Regions from separate parts of the Homo sapiens genome. Here region 1 is linked to region 2. Evidence: promoter capture Hi-C in 16 types of primary human blood cells and fetal thymus (Javierre and others, 2016). All regions are on one chromosome and are shown on one strand. The core of a region is centred on a gene start or on the middle of the fragment in contact, and the rest is flanking DNA. Distances in the headings are between cores, read along the strand shown. Region 1 overlaps LOC105376652 (a long non-coding RNA gene). Region 2 holds the start of LINC02716 (long intergenic non-protein coding RNA 2716).

What was found. Contacts are between HindIII fragments. The CHiCAGO score rates a contact against its expected background, and 5 or more counts as called.
Region 1: a fragment that was not itself captured here is called in contact with the fragment with the promoter of LINC02716 in region 2 in 1 of 17 cell types (M2 macrophages); the score reaches 5.7 in M2 macrophages.

Annotation. Positions count from the first base shown.
Region 1 is chr11:45,127,019-45,131,140 of GRCh38, reverse strand. All of the region lies in intron 3 of LOC105376652 (a long non-coding RNA gene), which reads left to right. It also overlaps a transcript of PRDM11 not described here. Among named protein-coding and RNA genes, the nearest start is that of PRDM11, 18 kb to the left of the region's middle. RefSeq lists enhancers at 2,523-3,023, 3,024-3,524. The HindIII fragment of the contact is 1,414 bases long and covers 1,046-2,459 here.
Region 2 is chr11:45,769,110-45,772,929 of GRCh38, reverse strand. LINC02716 (long intergenic non-protein coding RNA 2716) reads right to left here and starts at 1,498. Exons shown (of 2, transcript NR_027134.1): 1 at 1,216-1,498; 2 at 572-937. RefSeq lists an enhancer at 1,305-1,806. The HindIII fragment of the contact is 20,811 bases long and covers 1-3,820 here.

The sequences.
Region 1 (4,122 bases), core at 503-3,002, 640 kb after region 2:
ACCTACTCCTTGTGCTCATCATTGTATCTGTGTGATTCATTCATGTTGTTGAGAATAGTAGGTTTGTTCCATTTTTTGCTGTGTGGTATCCCCATTATATGACTATACCAATGATCCATTTTACTGTTGATGGACATTTGAGTTGTGTCTAACTCTTGGCTATTTTAAACAAAGCTGCTGTAAAGTTTCATACATGCTTTTTTGATGGACATGTGTACTCTAATGTATCTTGGGTAGTTACCTACAATTCAAATTGCTTAAATTTTTAATTCAAACTGGCAACACCTAAACGTCTCATAACACGTTGAATACAGTGCAGCCATTAAAAATCCTATTATGGAAAAAGTTATTGACGGATGAAAATGTTCATGGTATATTGTAAAATGAAAGCACATGCTCAAAATAATATAAGCAATATGACCCTATTTGCAACAGTTAGAATGCTTTTAGCTGTAAATATCAAAATTTGGTGTACACTTAATACGAAATTTCCAAACAGTTCTCCAAAGTAATTGTATCAATTTACACTCTCAAAAACAATACATGAGTGAGTTCCAGGTGTGCCACGTTCTTGCCAACACTTAATATTCACAATCTTTTTCTTTTTACTCATTCTAGAAAGTTTGTAGTGATGTTCATTGTGGTTTCAATTGACTTTTTCCTGATGAGTGATAATGTTGAACACCTTCTCATGTGTTGATTGGCCATTTGAATATCCTTTCTTGTGAAGTGCTTAAGTTTTATGCCCAAAGTTTAATTGTTTTTTGTTTTATTGATTTCTCAGATATATGTATTGCCAATATCTTATCCCAGTGTATATTTTGCCTTTTCACGCTCCTGATGTCTTTTAATGAACAGAAGTTCTTAATTTTAATGAGGCCTATTTTATGGGTAATGGCTTTGGTGTTCTAACAACTTTTTAACTATCCCAATATCATAATGATATGATTCTGTATTTTCTTTTGGAAGCTTTATTGTTTTGTTTTTCACATGTAGATCTAGAATCCATTTCAAATTAATTTTGGTGTGAGGTAGGGATCAAGCTTCATTTTTTTCCCATATGAATATCCAATTGATCTAAGACATTAGGCCATTTATTTAAAAGGCATTCTCCACCCACTGGATTGCAGTGGCACCACTGTCAAAAATCAGTTGACCATGTAAGTGTGGGTCTGTTGTTGGACTCTATCCTACTTCATTCTTCTATTTATCTGTCTTTGCACCAAACCCACATAGTCTTCTTAACTACTGTAGATTTACAATAAGTATATCTGATGGTACGAGTCCTCCAACTTTATTCTTCTTCAACATCATTTTGGCTATTCTGGGTTTTTTTTGCATTTTTATATGTATATTTTACAATCAGCTTTTCAATTTACTTCCAGTATTTTGATTGAGATGTCACAAAATCTGTAGATCAATTTGGAGAGAGATTGCTATTTGGAGAGAAACAATATTGATTCTTCCAATCTGTAAACATGAAGTGTTTATGTAAATCCATGTGTTTAGGTCTTATTTAATTTCTCTAAACACTGTTTTATAGGGTGGATATCTTGCAATTTTTCATTGTATGTATTCTTATTTGATTTTAAAAATTCAGTTGTAAATGGTGGTTTTTAAGGTTCTATTTCCAATTTGTTTTACTAGTATATAAATATACAATTGATTTCTGAAAAGTCACCTTGTTTAAACGACCTTTCCAAATTTGCTTATTAATTCTAATAGTTTGTTTATAGACCCTTTTGAATTTTTTGCATACATCACCATGTATGTGAGCAAATAATAGTTTTATTCTTTCGTTTTAAGTCTCATACTTTTCAATTTTTTTCTTGCCATATTGCACTGGCTAGGATCTTCAGTACGATGATGAATAGAAGTAGCGATAGTAGCCTTGTCTTGTTCCTAACCTCAGAGGAAAAGCATTCACTAGTTTATGTTAAAAGATGTTAGCTAAGGGTTTTTGTAGATATCCTTCATTAGATTAGAAAAGTTCCTTTCTATTCCTGTTTTCTGGTAGTTTAATTTGAAAAAGTGTTGAATTTGTCAAATAATGTTTCTATATCTATCAAGATGATTATATGCTTTTTCTCCTTTATTCTGTTAATGTGGTGAATTACATTAAAATAATGTTAAAGTAACTGCATTCTTAGAATAAACACCATGTGGTCATGATATATAATTTTTGTATGTCACTACGTTTGATTTGCTAATATTTTAGTTAGGATTTTCACATTTATGCTTATGAGTGATATTGGCCTGCAATTTTTTCTTTCCTTTCTTATAAAATATAATAATAAAATGTCAGATTTTTAAAATCAGGTTTATATTGGTCTTGTAAAGCAAGTTTGGAGGTGTTTTTTATTTCTCTTTTTTCTGAAATAGTTTAAATAAGATTAGCACTGTTTCTGCCTTAAATATTTGTGGAAATTCTCCAGTGAAGCTATCTGGCCCTGGAAGCTTCTTTGTAGGAAAATTTTCAATTACAGATTCAGTTTTTAAATGAATATTAGACTACAGTATTTTTTACTTTTTTTATATGGTAAGTTGTGTTTTCAAAGAATTTGTTCATTTAATCTAAGTTGCCAAATGTATCAACAAAAAGTTGTTAATACCATGATATCAGCGGGGGGAGGGGGGGTGCGCGGGGTGTAGCCAAGATGGCTGAATAGGAAGAGCTCCGGTCTACAGCTTCCAGCGTGAGCGACGCAGAAGATGGGTGATTTCTGCATTTCCATCTGAGGTACCGGGTTCATCTCACTAGGGAGTGCCAGACAGTGGGTGCAGGACAGTGGGTGCAGTGCACTGTGTGCGAGCCGAAGCAGGGCGAGGCATTGCCTCACTCAGGAAGTGCAAGGGGTCAGGGAGTTCCCTTTCCTAGTCAAAGAAAGGGGTGACAGACAGCACCTGGAAAATTGGGTCACTCCCACCCTAATACTGCACTTTGCCAACGGGCTTAAAAAACGGCACACCAGGAGATTATATCCTGCACATGGCTCGGAGGGTCCTACGCCCACAGAGTCTCACTGATTGCTAGCACAGCAGTCTGAGATCAAACTGCAAGGTGGCAGCGAGGCTGGGGGAGGGGCGCCTGCCATTGCCCAGGCTTGCATAGGTAAACAAAGCAGCCAGGAAGCTCGAAGTGGGTGGAGCCCACCACAGCTCAAGGAGGCCTGCCTGCCTCTGTAGGCTCCACCTCTGGGGGCAGGGCAAAGACAAAAAGACAGCAGTAACCTCTACAGACTTAAACGTCCCTATCTGACAGCTTTGAAGAGAGTAGTGGTTCTCCCAGCACGCAGCTGGAGATCTGAGAACGGGCAGACTGCCTCGTCAAGTGGGTCCCTGACCCCTGAGCAGCCTAACTGGGAGGCACCCCCCGGTAGGGGCAGACTGACACCTCACAGGGCCGGGTACTCCTCTGAGACAAAACTTCCAGAGGAATGATCAGGCAGCAGCATTTGCGGTTCATGAAAACCCGCTGTTCTACAGCCACCGCTGTTCTGCAGCCACCGCTGCTGATACCCAGGCAAACAGGGTCTGGAGTAGACTTCTAGCAAACTCCAACAGACCTGCAGCTGAGGGTCCTGTCTGTTAGAAGGAAAACTAACAAACAGAAAGGACATCCACACCAAAAACCCATCTGTACATCACCATCATCAAAGACCAAAAGTAGATAAAACTACAAAGATGGGGAAAAAACAGAGCAGAAAAACTGGAAACTCTAAAAAGCAGAGCGCCTCTCCTCCTCCAAAGGAACGCAGCTCCTCACCAGCAACGGAACAAAGCTGGACGGAGAATGACTTTGACAAGTTGGGAGAAGAAGGCTTCAGATGATCAAACTACTCCGAGCTACAGGAGGAAATTCAAACCAATGGCAAAGAAGTTAAAAACTTTGAAAAAAATTAGACGAATGTATAACTAGAATAACCAATGCAGAGAAGTGCTTAAAGGAGCTGATGGAGCTGAAAGCCAAGGCTGGAGAACTATGTGAAGAATGCAGAAGCCTCAGGAGCTGACGTGATTAACTGGAAGAAAGGGTTTCAGTGATGGCAGATGAAATGAATGAAATGAAGCGAGAAGGGAAGTTTAGAGAAAAAAGAATAAAAAGAAACGAACAAAGTCTCC
Region 2 (3,820 bases), core at 249-2,748:
TGTAACAATGTCATCCAAGTGTTCTTTAAGTGGTGGTGCTGAAAAACGCACCTGAAAATCGATAACATTGGAAAGGAAGTGAGATGTGATAAAACGTTATGAAGAAGGCCAAACCACCGGCAGGAAATGCTGCACTGTTAATTTAGCAGAGAGTGCGTTATGAAATATTAGCGATAATGCCAGGGAAATAAAAAGCAGCATTAAGGCAAAAATATGCCACAATTGGAGTAATGTATGCAACCTATCCTTTCTACTTTGCATTCATTTCTCTGGCAAAATTAGTCAGAAATTATGCACGCTTTGAATTATGCAAGTTTTTCAGGACCACATGCTTTGCATAAAACTCTACTGCCCTGAGGTTCTCAGTGGGTGGAAGAATGAGTGACCATATTCTAGGGTTATCTTAGGCCAGGCCGTTGTACCCTCCTGTCCTAGGTGGGGATGAAGTGACCTCATGTGTAAAATGGGACCGTTGGACTGGCTTGTCTTTCTTTCCTTATTAGACTATGTCGAGACAGGCACCATTATATTTCTGCCCCAAAGGTGTCTTTTTCTGGACGGATCCCACAGCTGATACCAAACTTGTCTTTATTAACTGTGAGGCTGGCCATTCAAACACCAGGTGCCAGAGAGGGTCCCTCACTCATCGGAATCCGGGTGGGATGAATCCTCGGAGGCAAGGTCCCTCCACCTTCACCCTAGAGTCACACAGAGACTTGCCCTGGCGGCTGGTGACAGGTGGGCGGGAGAAGAAAAGGCCCCTGGGGAGCAGGAGAAAGCCAGGTGCCATGGGGACCCAGCGCCGCTGGAGGGCAGCACCAGCACACAGCTGAGGCCGCCTCTCCCGGAGCCCGGAGGGAGCTGGGTTCCGGTCGCCAGCGGTGCCCGGGTGAGCAGTTCACCCTCACGTCCCTGCTCTGACGAAGTTTCCATTCTTCTGGAGAAGACAAAATAAACGTGAACAAATGAACAAGTGTGCATTGTCAGGCAGCAAGTGTTGGTACAAACAAGATAGTGGTGGGGGTGGGGACACCGTTAAATAGGGGCCAGGGAGGCCTAACCCGGGAGGGGATAGCTGAGATGCCACTTGAGTGGAGAAAACAGTCCGAGATCTGAAGGTGTTCATGGAGAGGGGAAGGGGCCCCTAGAGGAGTCGGGAAAGCCTGGGTCAGGGAAGACGAGAAAACTGAGGAACAGAGAAGCCAGGTAACTTACCCAGGGTCATAGAGCCGGTGAGCTGGGGACAGCGCCTGTCAACGCCCCAGAGCCTTCCACGGCACTGGTTTCTCCGACCTTCCTCTCTAAACAGGACCGTGACAGTGACAGTTTCTGCCCCACTCCCCATTTCTGACCGCAGTCCCCATAAGGAAACAGGGCAGGGATCACTGGCTGTGAGCCCAGCAAGTCCCCTCCCGTGGCTTTCTCAGTTATTAAATGGAAGGGTGGGTCCCCCCATAACTCCGAAGCTCCCCTCTCTAAGCGTCCGCGGGCCGGGAACGCCTGAATTCTGGCTCCCGAGCACCTTCTTGTGGACAGTTTTGGAATCACACGCTCAGCGAGAAAGGGTCGTGGGAAAATGGTCTGTGCTAATTTCGGAGAGGCCAGTGGATTGGAAGGTTATCACTGAGGGTGGGTGCACGTGTGTGTGTGTGTGCGCGCACGTGCATGCGTGCATGCATCTGTGTGCCTGTGTGTGTTGGTCTGTGTGTGAATGTACCTCTGTGCGTATCTGTGTGTATGGTTGTGTGTGAGCACATACTGCCCGAGCCTGTGTGTGTGTGAGTGTGTGTGTGCACTAATGTTTGTTTATATGGGCACAGGCACACACATGTCCATGTCCATGTGTGTGTACCTGCATCTGTATTTTTTCGTCTGGTGTATGGGCTTGTTTTTGTGTGCCTGCATGCATGTGCCCATGTGCGTGTGTGTTTTGGGAACTGGGACACAGAGGATGATATGAGAAGTCCCCAGTCTTTCTCACAAAGGCCTAACCACTCTCCCTGAAGCCAGCTTTCTCCCCTACTTGCTTCTGTCTGCACCATCACCTGAGTTCTCCCACCTGAACTTTTCACCGACATTTTTGATGATTTTTCTGTTTTGTGTCCGTTGAGGCTCATTTGAATGTTACAGATCATAGCTCAAGAAATGATTCTCAGGCCGGGCATGGTGGCTCATGCCTGTAATCCCAGCACTTTGGGAGGCTGAGGCAGGTGGATCGTCTGAGGTCAAGAGTTCAAGACCAGCCTGGCTAACATGGTGAAACCCCGTTTCTACTAATAATAACAAATTAGCCAGGTGTGGTGGCGTGTGCCTGTAATCCCAGCTACTCGGGGGGCTGAGGCAGGAGAATCACTGGAACCGGTGAGGCAGAGGTTGCAGTGAGCTGAGATCCCTGGGTGACACAGCGAGACTCCGTCTAAAAAAAAAGAAAGAAAGAAGTGATTCTCCTCTAGTCTACTCACCCAAATCATGAGTTTCACTTCTCAGGTGGGCTGATCACCCACTGTCCTGTTGAGACCTGGGGACTTGTACAAAGTCGTACCCTGGAGGGTTGAGCAGAAAACCAGGCACATAGTAACTAAGACAATGGCGCGTTAGCAAAGCACTCCACACATCCCGTTCACATGTGTGTCTTACTTGACTCACAAACTGATCTTTCATCCTTTTTTTTTTCCTTTTTTGTGGTGAACAGGGTCTTGCTATATTGCCCAGGCAGGTCTCAAACTACCGGCTGATCTTTCAAGCCTAGGCAAGGTGAGGCTAATTATTCCCATTTTACAGATGAAGACACTGAGGCTCAGAGAGGGAAATAATGAAAATAGTACTGCAGGAACCATCTAACCAATATGCAAACTCTCTCATCCAGTTTTCATAACATCATCAATTCCCTTCTTTAAAAGACAAGGAGATGGAGGCTTTAAAAATGTAAGGCGAGTGCTTAATGCCATATAGCCAATCAGTAGTTGAGGCAGGATTTGAATCTCGCTCCAGAGATTAAAGCCCAAGTCCTAAACACAATGGCAGGCGTGAGGGCCCTGGGCACACACTGACTCAAGCTCTTTCAGCCACACACTGTCCCTTTGCCATGCCTCTGGGGTCCTAAGAACATCCTCCTCTGAGCCCACAGGGAGGTCATTCCCCATCCTGGGTGCCCCTGCTCCTCTCCCAGATGCGGGGCAGGTGAATCTTGTAACCTGTGTCACTCTCAGAGGCTGAGATGGGGACTGAGCATTAATTATGCAATAACCTCGCTGTGGTGTGCCTAATTGTCTGATAACCATAATTGAATCTTATGGATTACACCAACATTATTGCAGGGAGCAGCTTAAGGCAGTTAACAGAAGCTGCACTCACTTTGTGATATCTTCCTCCTGTCTCCTTGCTGGCTGGGCTGTGAGTCCTTTCCTGGGGGCTGAGGGAGGCCTCGAGGTGCAGGGGGCAGGCAGGAGGTGAGTGACAGCACAAATGTCGCATCACCTTATCCCCCCGAGGGCACCATCTTCCTGGCTGAGAAAAGTCTGTGTGGCAGGTGGAATTATCATTTTGTAAATGAGAATGTGGCATCAGAAGGCTGAGAGACTCTCCCAATTTCAGTCTTGCTCATTGCTACTGGTCCTTGCTAGCATCATCTGGGACTGTTTAGACGTGCAGCATCTCAGCTGGGCTCGGTGGCTCACGCTTGTAATCCCAGCACTTTGGGAGGCCAAGGCGTGTGGATCATGAGATCAGGAGTTTGAGACCAGCCTGACCAACATGGTGAAACCCCGTCTCTAAAAATTAGCTGGGCATGGTGGTGCGTGCCTGTAATCCCAGCTACTCA